Linked DNA regions of Homo sapiens: region 2 is linked to region 1. Evidence: promoter capture Hi-C in human tissues and cell types (Jung and others, 2019). All regions are on one chromosome and are shown on one strand. The core of a region is centred on a gene start or on the middle of the fragment in contact, and the rest is flanking DNA. Distances in the headings are between cores, read along the strand shown. Region 1 holds the start of ZBTB43 (zinc finger and BTB domain containing 43). Region 2 has its middle 64 kb from the start of ZBTB43.

Region 1 (3,945 bases), core at 879-3,378:
CTATCTCCAGAGATAATTTTGAAAATATTTGTCAGTACAGGACATGCACCAATGGATCGGAACAGATGCAGACGGTACCTCTGCATAATTTCTGAACATCAATTGTTTGACTTCCCAGGCTTGTGTTCTTGTTTTCCTCCTAGCTTCAGATAATTTTCCTGACTTTTTTTTTGCAAGTGTATCCATGCGTTTAAGAGGGTATTCTAAATATTTCTTCTAGCAATTTTATATATTTTGTTGTAGTAATATTTGTAAATATATAGTCCTCAATATTGCCAGAAATAAAGTCCAAGTAAGAAGTTTATTTGGCTCATGCAACAAAACACTTAAGGGTGTCCAAAGCTGGAACTGTGGCCTAATGTCATATGGGACCTAGGTTCTCTCAATCTTCCTGCTTTGCCAGCCTTAGCATTTACTTACCACTTCATAGGCACATGATGGCAGTTGAACTTCCAAACTTCAGGTCTGCTTAGAGGCAGGAATAAAAGTGGCAAAACACTTAAAGAGTATACTCAACTAGGCTGGGTGCAGTTGCTCACGCCTGTAATCCCAGCACTTTGGGAGGCCGAGGCGGTTGGATCATGAGGTCAGGAGTTTGAGACCAGCCTGGCCAAGATGGTGAAACCCCGTCTCTACTAAAAATACAAAAATTAGCCAGGCATGGTGGCATGCACCTGTAGTCTCAGCTACTCGGGAGGCTGAGGCAGGAGAATCGTTTGAACCTGGGAGGCGGAGGTTGCAGTGAGCCAAGATTGTGCCACTGCATTCCAGCCTGGGCAACAGAGCAAGAATTCGTCTCCAAAAAAAAACAAAACAAAACAAAACAAAACCACAAGGCGGGGGAGCTGGAGCATACATGTTTGAAGTAGAATCTTTGACAAGCTGTTCTGCATCCACTCCCATTTCTGTGCTTCCATATTTGTTTTCTTTCATTTTGTTTTCTAGAAAAAAAAATTTTTTTGGTAGAATTCTCTAGGAAAGCTACACTCCTGTGTCCTAGGGCCCAACAACAAGCAAGACAGGCATAACAGCTGGGAAACCAATCAGCTTAAACTGAGACAGACAATATCAAACAGGCATGTCAGGCCCCACGAGAACATCCACCCTAAATCCAGAAGGCATTATGACCACATCGCTTCAGCTGCCTGGATTTCAGGTATAAATTAGTTCTTCTACAAAGAGGGCACTTGGTCTGTAAACGGGTCCAAAGGTAAGAGTCCCACCGCTAAAGACCTATCTCTCTTCTACACTAACATGGGGGGGCAGTGGGGAAGAAAGGGGCGAGAAGAGGTATGGAGGTTTTGGGAGGGAGTGGGAGAATTGGAGGCTAGAGAGATCGTTTCTGTCCCACCATCTGTGTGACCCCAGTGCCCAGCACAATGCAGCCCACGGAAAGGCACTGGTCCTTTCATTGACCATTTACTGAGCATCTACTACATGCCAAAAAGCGAGATGGGTGCTGTGAAGGCAGAAACGGATTTGGAGATAATCTCCGCCAGGCATACTGAGGTCAAGGTTTTCGTTCGTTTGTTTAGAGAAGAGACGGAGAAGGTCAAGGTGTTTTTGTTTGTTTTGTTGTTGTTGTTGTTGTTGTTTAAGAGTCTTGCTCTGTGCTCAGGCTGGAGTGCAGCGGCGTGATCTCGGCTCACTGCAACCTCTGCCTCACGGGTTCAGGCAATTCTCCTGTCTCAGCTTCCCAAGTAGCTGGGATTACAGGCGCGCGCAACCACGCTCAGCTAATTTTTGTATGTTTTGTAGAGACAGGGTTTCACCATGTTGGCCAGGATGGTCTCGAACTCCTAGCCTCAAGCGATCATCCCCTCTCGGCCTCCCAAAGTGCAGGGATTACAGACGTGGGCTACCGCGCCTGGCCTATGCCAAGGTTTCAAGAAGGTTTAGAACTCAGTATCTGCTCCCCTATTTTCAACAGCGTAGTCAGTCCCTAAAATTGACCCGCTCCAGAGTGTACTGCGCAGGCGCCCGCTACCTCCGCGCTCTCTCCCGACGCCCAGCTCAGACGGTAAGTCCCGCATGCGCACTCCGCTTTCTCTCTGACGCACCCCCGGAAGCACTGTCAGTTTCGGGGGGCGGGACCGGGAAGCGTTTCCGGGGGCTGAAGGCACAGGCTGAATCTGTTGCGGCAGCTGAGGCTACAACAGGCCTGCGCCGGCGGCAGAGAGGATATCTTGGGCGGGGGATGTGAGCGCTGAGCCCTTGGCAGGTACTGCGTGGCCAGGACCACGGGCGGCAAGGGTAGGGGAGGAGAAGTCGGTGGGGGAGTTAAGGGCTCCTCAGCAGGCCCCGACGCTCGCGCCGCTGGCCCCGCCAGGCCCATTCCGTGGACCGGCATACCAAAGCCCCGCGCGGGAGGTTGGGGTCCCGGCGCTCCAGCTCCGAATCCCGCAGTCTTCTGCCCACACGGCGCGCAGACCGCGATACCGAGGCCTTTGGGGCAGCTTCTCGCCCAAGGTCACCCTCGCGGCGGCGGAGCTCCGCCGGCCACAGCGCTTAGAGATCCCGCCCCCGTCCGTCCGCTGGCCTTTCGGGGCGTAGGGTGGGCGCGGCTTGACGACCTCGGGTTCGAGCCACCAATGCCTGAGGCCTGACGAGCCGAGCTGGGAGAAAGACTGCGCCTGGACTTAGCTGATCTTCTGTTTAAGTAAAACATTCAGCATCCCCTGTTGCTGTCTCTGTCACCTGTTGTAACCTGCCCTTTTTGTCTTTCAGCTAGGTCGCTGTCAACCTGATATTTCTCTCCACTTTGTCTTTGTCGGGGTATCTGGATCCTGTTTTATATCTGTCTCCACCTTGCTTCTGTGTCTGTTCACCCTGTCTCTGCCACTCAGCCCTTACTCTAATTCAGGGCCTGTCAGTCTGGCTTTTTGGCCATCTGTCTGTTTCTCTCTTTCTGCCAACTTTGTTTTTGCCTCTTGTCTCTCTTTCCTGAGTTTGGGTGGGGCAGGGCTGCCCAGACCTCTGAGCCATGGAAGGTGACTCATGACCCCGTGAAGTTCCCTGCACTGGTGACACTCTCAGTGACTCGACCGCAGTTTGGCCTCAACTCTGACAGGTGTCGCCCAACATAAGTGTCAGAGTGCAGGAGAGCCTGTCAGGGAGACAGGAGGCCCATTTTAGGGCCAGAGCAGCTTGATGAGTCCTCTCCTTTTCTCGCCTGTGGTTTCTCAGGCCTGCACAGCTTCCCAAATGCCTTCGCTCTATCCACTCACCACAGGATGGTCTCCAGGGATCTCTGGAGCCTGCTCTTTGAGTTACAGCTGTTTAACAGGCCTGTCTACAGGCTAAGAAAGGATCAGACTGAGGTCTTTGGGGCTACTGGAACAGTAGCAGGGTTTCTGGGATAACTGCATGCTTAGTTCAGAGATTGTGTCAGCATTTTCAGTTAAATTATAAGAAACCTAATAATTGGGAATTTATTATTTGCTTTATAAAAGCACCACGGGAGAAATAAACCACACACAAAAGGACAAATGTTGTTTGAGAGCACTTAAATGAAGTACCTAGAATAAACCAATTAAGAGACGGAAAGTAGAATAGTTTACCAGGGGCTGGGGAGAGGAGTTATTGCTTAATGTTACAGAACAGAGTTTTGGGGGATGATGAATAAGGTCTGGAAATGGGTTGTGATGATTGCACAACATTGTGAATGTACTTCACTGAATTGGACTCTTAAAATTACTTAAAATTGTTAAGTCTTAAAGTTTTATGTATATTTTATACAATACAAAAAACAAAAACAGTATTCATTGGAGACTCCTGAAACCAATAAGCTCCTTTTACATGTAATTTTTCAAAATTCATTCTGTAGTTGTTAGGAACACAGTTGAACCTGTGTTTATTGATTCCTACTCTCTTTACAGCAGTGGGTACAGCTGAGGTTCTTAGAAAAGTTTAGTTAAATGAATTTGGTTAAAATCTTTCTCAGGC
Region 2 (4,232 bases), core at 1,405-3,904, 63 kb before region 1:
TTAGAAGTGATGTTGTGCAGAATGCGATGACTGTGGATAAGGCTGTTGCCATAGTTTGAATATGCTTTGTTTGTCCCCACAAAATCTCATGTTGATATTTGATCCCCAAAGTTGGAGATTGGGCCTAAATAGGAGATGTTCAGGTCATGGGGGTAGATCCCCCATGAATAGATTAATGCCCTCCTCAGGGGTTAGGAGCGAGTGAGTTCTCACTCTATTTGGTCCCATGAGAGCTGATCATTAAAAAGAGCCTGGAACTTCTCCTGCCCTCTTGCTTCCTCTCTCGCCATGCTCTCTGCACATATGGCTCCCTTTCACCTTCTGCCATGAGTAGAAGCAACCTGAAGCCCTCACCACAACAAGATGCTGGCACCATGCTTCCTGTACAGGCTGCAAAACCATGAGCCAAATAAACCTCTTTTCTTTGTAAATTACCCAGTCTCCGGGAGTATCCCTTTATAACAACACAAAACGGACTAAGACAGGTGTGGATGGTGATTTTGAAAGAAGCATTGTGAGCAGAGAAAGCAAATCCACATCCAGAGTATCTATTCCAGTGGCAACAAAGTGCTGCCCCCTTTATGCTGTAAGTAGCCTGTATAACCAAACTGCCACCACATGGGGGGAATGGGCCCCCCACTGGAGCCTCTGAGGAATGGGGCCATCTTGGGGGCTCAGTGTTGGTCTCTGCTGCTGGCAGGTCAGGCACACAGCAGTGACTGTGGCCAGATCAGCTTTGTTAAGTGTAAGTCCATGTTGCTAAGCCTATGAATAACCTCCATCCCTGCCTACATAGCCACTTAGTTCATCATCCCATACAGGAGTAACTGGGGAGAGAGGTTGACTGGAATCCAGAGAATGGGGCATCCTGTCCACCTGAGTATTATGATTCTTCTCTGCTAAAGTTGCTCTTTGACGAGCATTTGCATGGACACAAATATCTTCACACCATGTGACAATTTAGGTTCATTCACATATCTCTTCCCCAGATCTCTTTGTCACCAACTATGCAATCTTGTTCTTTCCAAGTCCCTGACCATCCAACCAAACCATTAGCCATCTCCTGCAATTAATTTTTATTAATCACCTCAGATCTATACCTCTTGCCAGCTCTCCTTCCAGGAGAAATGAACAATAAGGTGCACTGCTCAACTCTCCACTGGGAGGACTTCCCATTCCCACTGCTCTTCGGAACCACCCCAGAGTGTGGTTTAGTACTACAGTGGTCCACCTATAGATTGTTCCAGCCTGTCTTGCAGAACCATTTATTTTCCAGTCCAAATGTTTTCTTTCTCAGTTAACTGGTCACTGGGAAACTTCTCATGACTGCACAGGTACAGACTGAAAAGGAGGAGGCAAAGTAGGAGAACCAGGAGTCACTTGTGCCTTTCAGATCCACTCAAGCCCAACCTAGTACAAAACACCTCTGCTTGCTGAGGGATTGATGGGATATGATGGTGTGGATACGGCAGAGTTGTCTGTGGGCCCACCAGGCACACAGTGAAGTTGACACAAGCCAAAACTCCATTAGTCACCCAATTGCCATAATCCCCTTCTTTCATTGGTGAACCACGATGTCATTTTGGGTCCCCAAGCATGCAGTGATCTCCAAAATTCTGGTTCTTTCCCCCTCCCCAGTGTATAGTCATCCTGGGAAATGGCTGCTGGTAGCTTAGGAAGGTCTAGGAGGAAGAGTCATGATGTATTGAAAAAGTTGCAGTGCACACTTTTGGCAGTAGCATTCCTTGTGTTGATTCAAGTCAGACTTCCATTCACTGGACCTAGAGCTTTTTTGCTTATCCGAATCAAGCAAGACTTTAATAATCAACTACCAATGCTAAAGCATTCTTCAGATCAGACCATTCTGGATACTGCTTTGGCTTCGCTGTCCATTATGGGAATCATGCCCACCTTGTCTCTGTTAAGTGCTACCACTTGGTCCCTGCTACCCCAGGATCCCATCATCCCTATTGAATCCAGAGAGCTCAGTTTCATGGCTCATGGCATCATTTCCCACTGTAATTCCTCTCTTGAAGAGAACTGATACTATGGGACTCTTCGGAGTTGCTGAGACTCCCTTCATCAATACCAATGCATTGCTTTTTCTTTTCTTTTCTTTTCTTCTTTTTCTGAGACAAGATCTCATTTTGTCACTTGATCATCAAGCTCATTGCAGCCTTGAATTCCTGGGCTCAAGTGATCTTCCTGCCTCAGCCTCCTGAGTAGCTGGGACTACAGGCATGTGCCACCATGGCCAGTTCAGTTTTTTTGTAGAGATGGGGTTTCACTATGTTACCCAGGCTGGTCTCAAACTCCTGGCTTTAAGCAGTTCTCCTGCCTCAGCCTCCCAAAGTGCTGGGATTACAGGAGTGAGCCACTGCACCCGGCCTTATTTCTAAAACCCTTGGTGAGCATATTATTTCCTAAAACTAATTATTGGTGAGCTAATTATCTCCTAAAGCCTTGATAAGCATAAACTTAGGGCCCTCCTGGGAGACATGGAGAGGGGGTGGGTGAGTAGGACATAAACAATGAATCTCTTCCAGCTTTCTGTCCCTAAGTTTTGGATATCTCCGTCTATAGTATATCAAGAAAGTCATGAAATTTCATCCTTATTCAGTATGGTCCATATATGGATCCAGGTTTCAATCAACCAACGGAGCAACTGTTAGAGTCCCTCTCAGCCACTCAAACTACTGCAATAAATCTAGAGTCTTCACTTACCTATTAATATCAATAAATTCAGCCAGATTCTACATTATATTGCTCCCACCAAAATCTGACAGTTAGGGTCCATTCCCATGTTGATACAAGTTGGAGACACCTTATAATTCTTTTCTGTATGTACAATGCCTCCTCATGAGTCACACTTTGTGCTTGATCCCATGAAGCTTACTGGGTTTGAGTCTGGTTATAGTTCTAGAAGCAATGGGTGTGTATGCGGGGTGGGGGTGGTGTAGGTCCTGAGGAAGATGGCCATTCCCCTGTAGGAATATCACCTCAGGAGAGGCCATTAGAGATTTTCCAGGCAAGTGGTGAGTAAACTCCCCAGAGGGAGAGGAAGGGATGCTTCCACTGACAAAAAGCTTGGTGGGATTGGGAGTTCAAGGTTCTTATCTTCATCGGAATCTTCCCAGATACCCCCACTCCAAATTTTAGGGTCCCACTCCTTCTCAATCAATGACCTCTAACTTTAACATGAGACCTTCCAAGGTTGTAAATTCAATCAGCATCATAATTTAGCTACCCAAGGGATTAGATTTAGAGTTTGGTTTTTAGAAATCAACCTGCAGCTCCAGGAGGTGAAGTTTTTTCTTTTCAGAGCATATGGAAGTGCTTCTTGATTGTTTACCCATTTCTTCATCTGAGAATTTAAAGTCCTGCACTCATCATCATCCTCTCCAAATTTTCCAGTGCACTTAGAAGCAACCAACCTGTTGGGCGCAGTGGCTCACACCTGTAATCCTAGCACTTTGGGAGGCTGAGGCAGGCAGATCATGAGGTCAGGAGACTGAGACCATCCTGGCTAACACGGTGAAACCCTGTCTCTACTAAAAAATACAAAAAATTGTCCGGGCGTGGTGGCTCACACCTGTAATCCCAACACTTGGGGAGGCTGAGGCGGGCGGATCATGAGGTCAGGAGATTGAGACCATCCTGGCTAACACGATGAAACCCCGTCTGTACTAAAAATACAAAAAATTAGCCAGGCATGGTGACATGCGCCTGTAGTCCCAGCTACTCAGGAGGCTGAGGCAGAAGAACCACTTGAACCCAGGAGGCAGAGGTTGCAGTGAGCCAAGATTCCGCCACTGCACTCCAGTCTGGTGACAGAGTGAGACTCCATCTTTAAAAAAAAAAAAAAGTAAAGAAGCAACCAACCAACCCCTGAATCCTTGTACCATTTATTTCCACCAAAATGTTCTATGGCAGTAGTTACTTGGTCAAGAAAAGTCATGCCTTCTGTAGGCCTTGATGCCAAGAGTCTAAAGATGATAATTTAATAGCTCTTCTCCAGCACGTGCCATCAACCACCGGCATCCCCTTTACTCCTAAAAGCAGTATCCTTAATGCCTCTATATCTACTCGGATGGGAGAACCAAACCACATTCCCATCCTTAACATTCTCTTCCCTGGAAAGCATCATTAGTATCAATAACTGCATCAGTCAGGGTTTGGTTAGGGAAGCAAAGCCACTGTGAGTGTTACAGGATACAGATTTATTACAGAGA

What was found. Contacts are between HindIII fragments. The study calls those that stand out against the background at their distance.
Region 2: a fragment that was not itself captured here is called in contact with the fragment with the promoter of ZBTB43 in region 1 in 2 of the 25 tissues and cell types used here (IMR-90 fibroblasts and mesendoderm cells).

Annotation. Positions count from the first base shown.
Region 1 is chr9:126,802,912-126,806,856 of GRCh38, forward strand. ZBTB43 (zinc finger and BTB domain containing 43) reads left to right here and starts at 2,129. Exons shown (of 3, transcript NM_014007.4): 1 at 2,129-2,221. RefSeq lists a silencer at 1,744-1,793 and enhancers at 1,855-2,356, 2,424-2,483, 2,894-3,003, 3,154-3,303. The HindIII fragment of the contact is 16,594 bases long and covers 1-3,945 here.
Region 2 is chr9:126,738,968-126,743,199 of GRCh38, forward strand. No RefSeq gene overlaps it. Among named protein-coding and RNA genes, the nearest start is that of ZBTB43, 64 kb to the right of the region's middle. The HindIII fragment of the contact is 3,481 bases long and covers 915-4,232 here.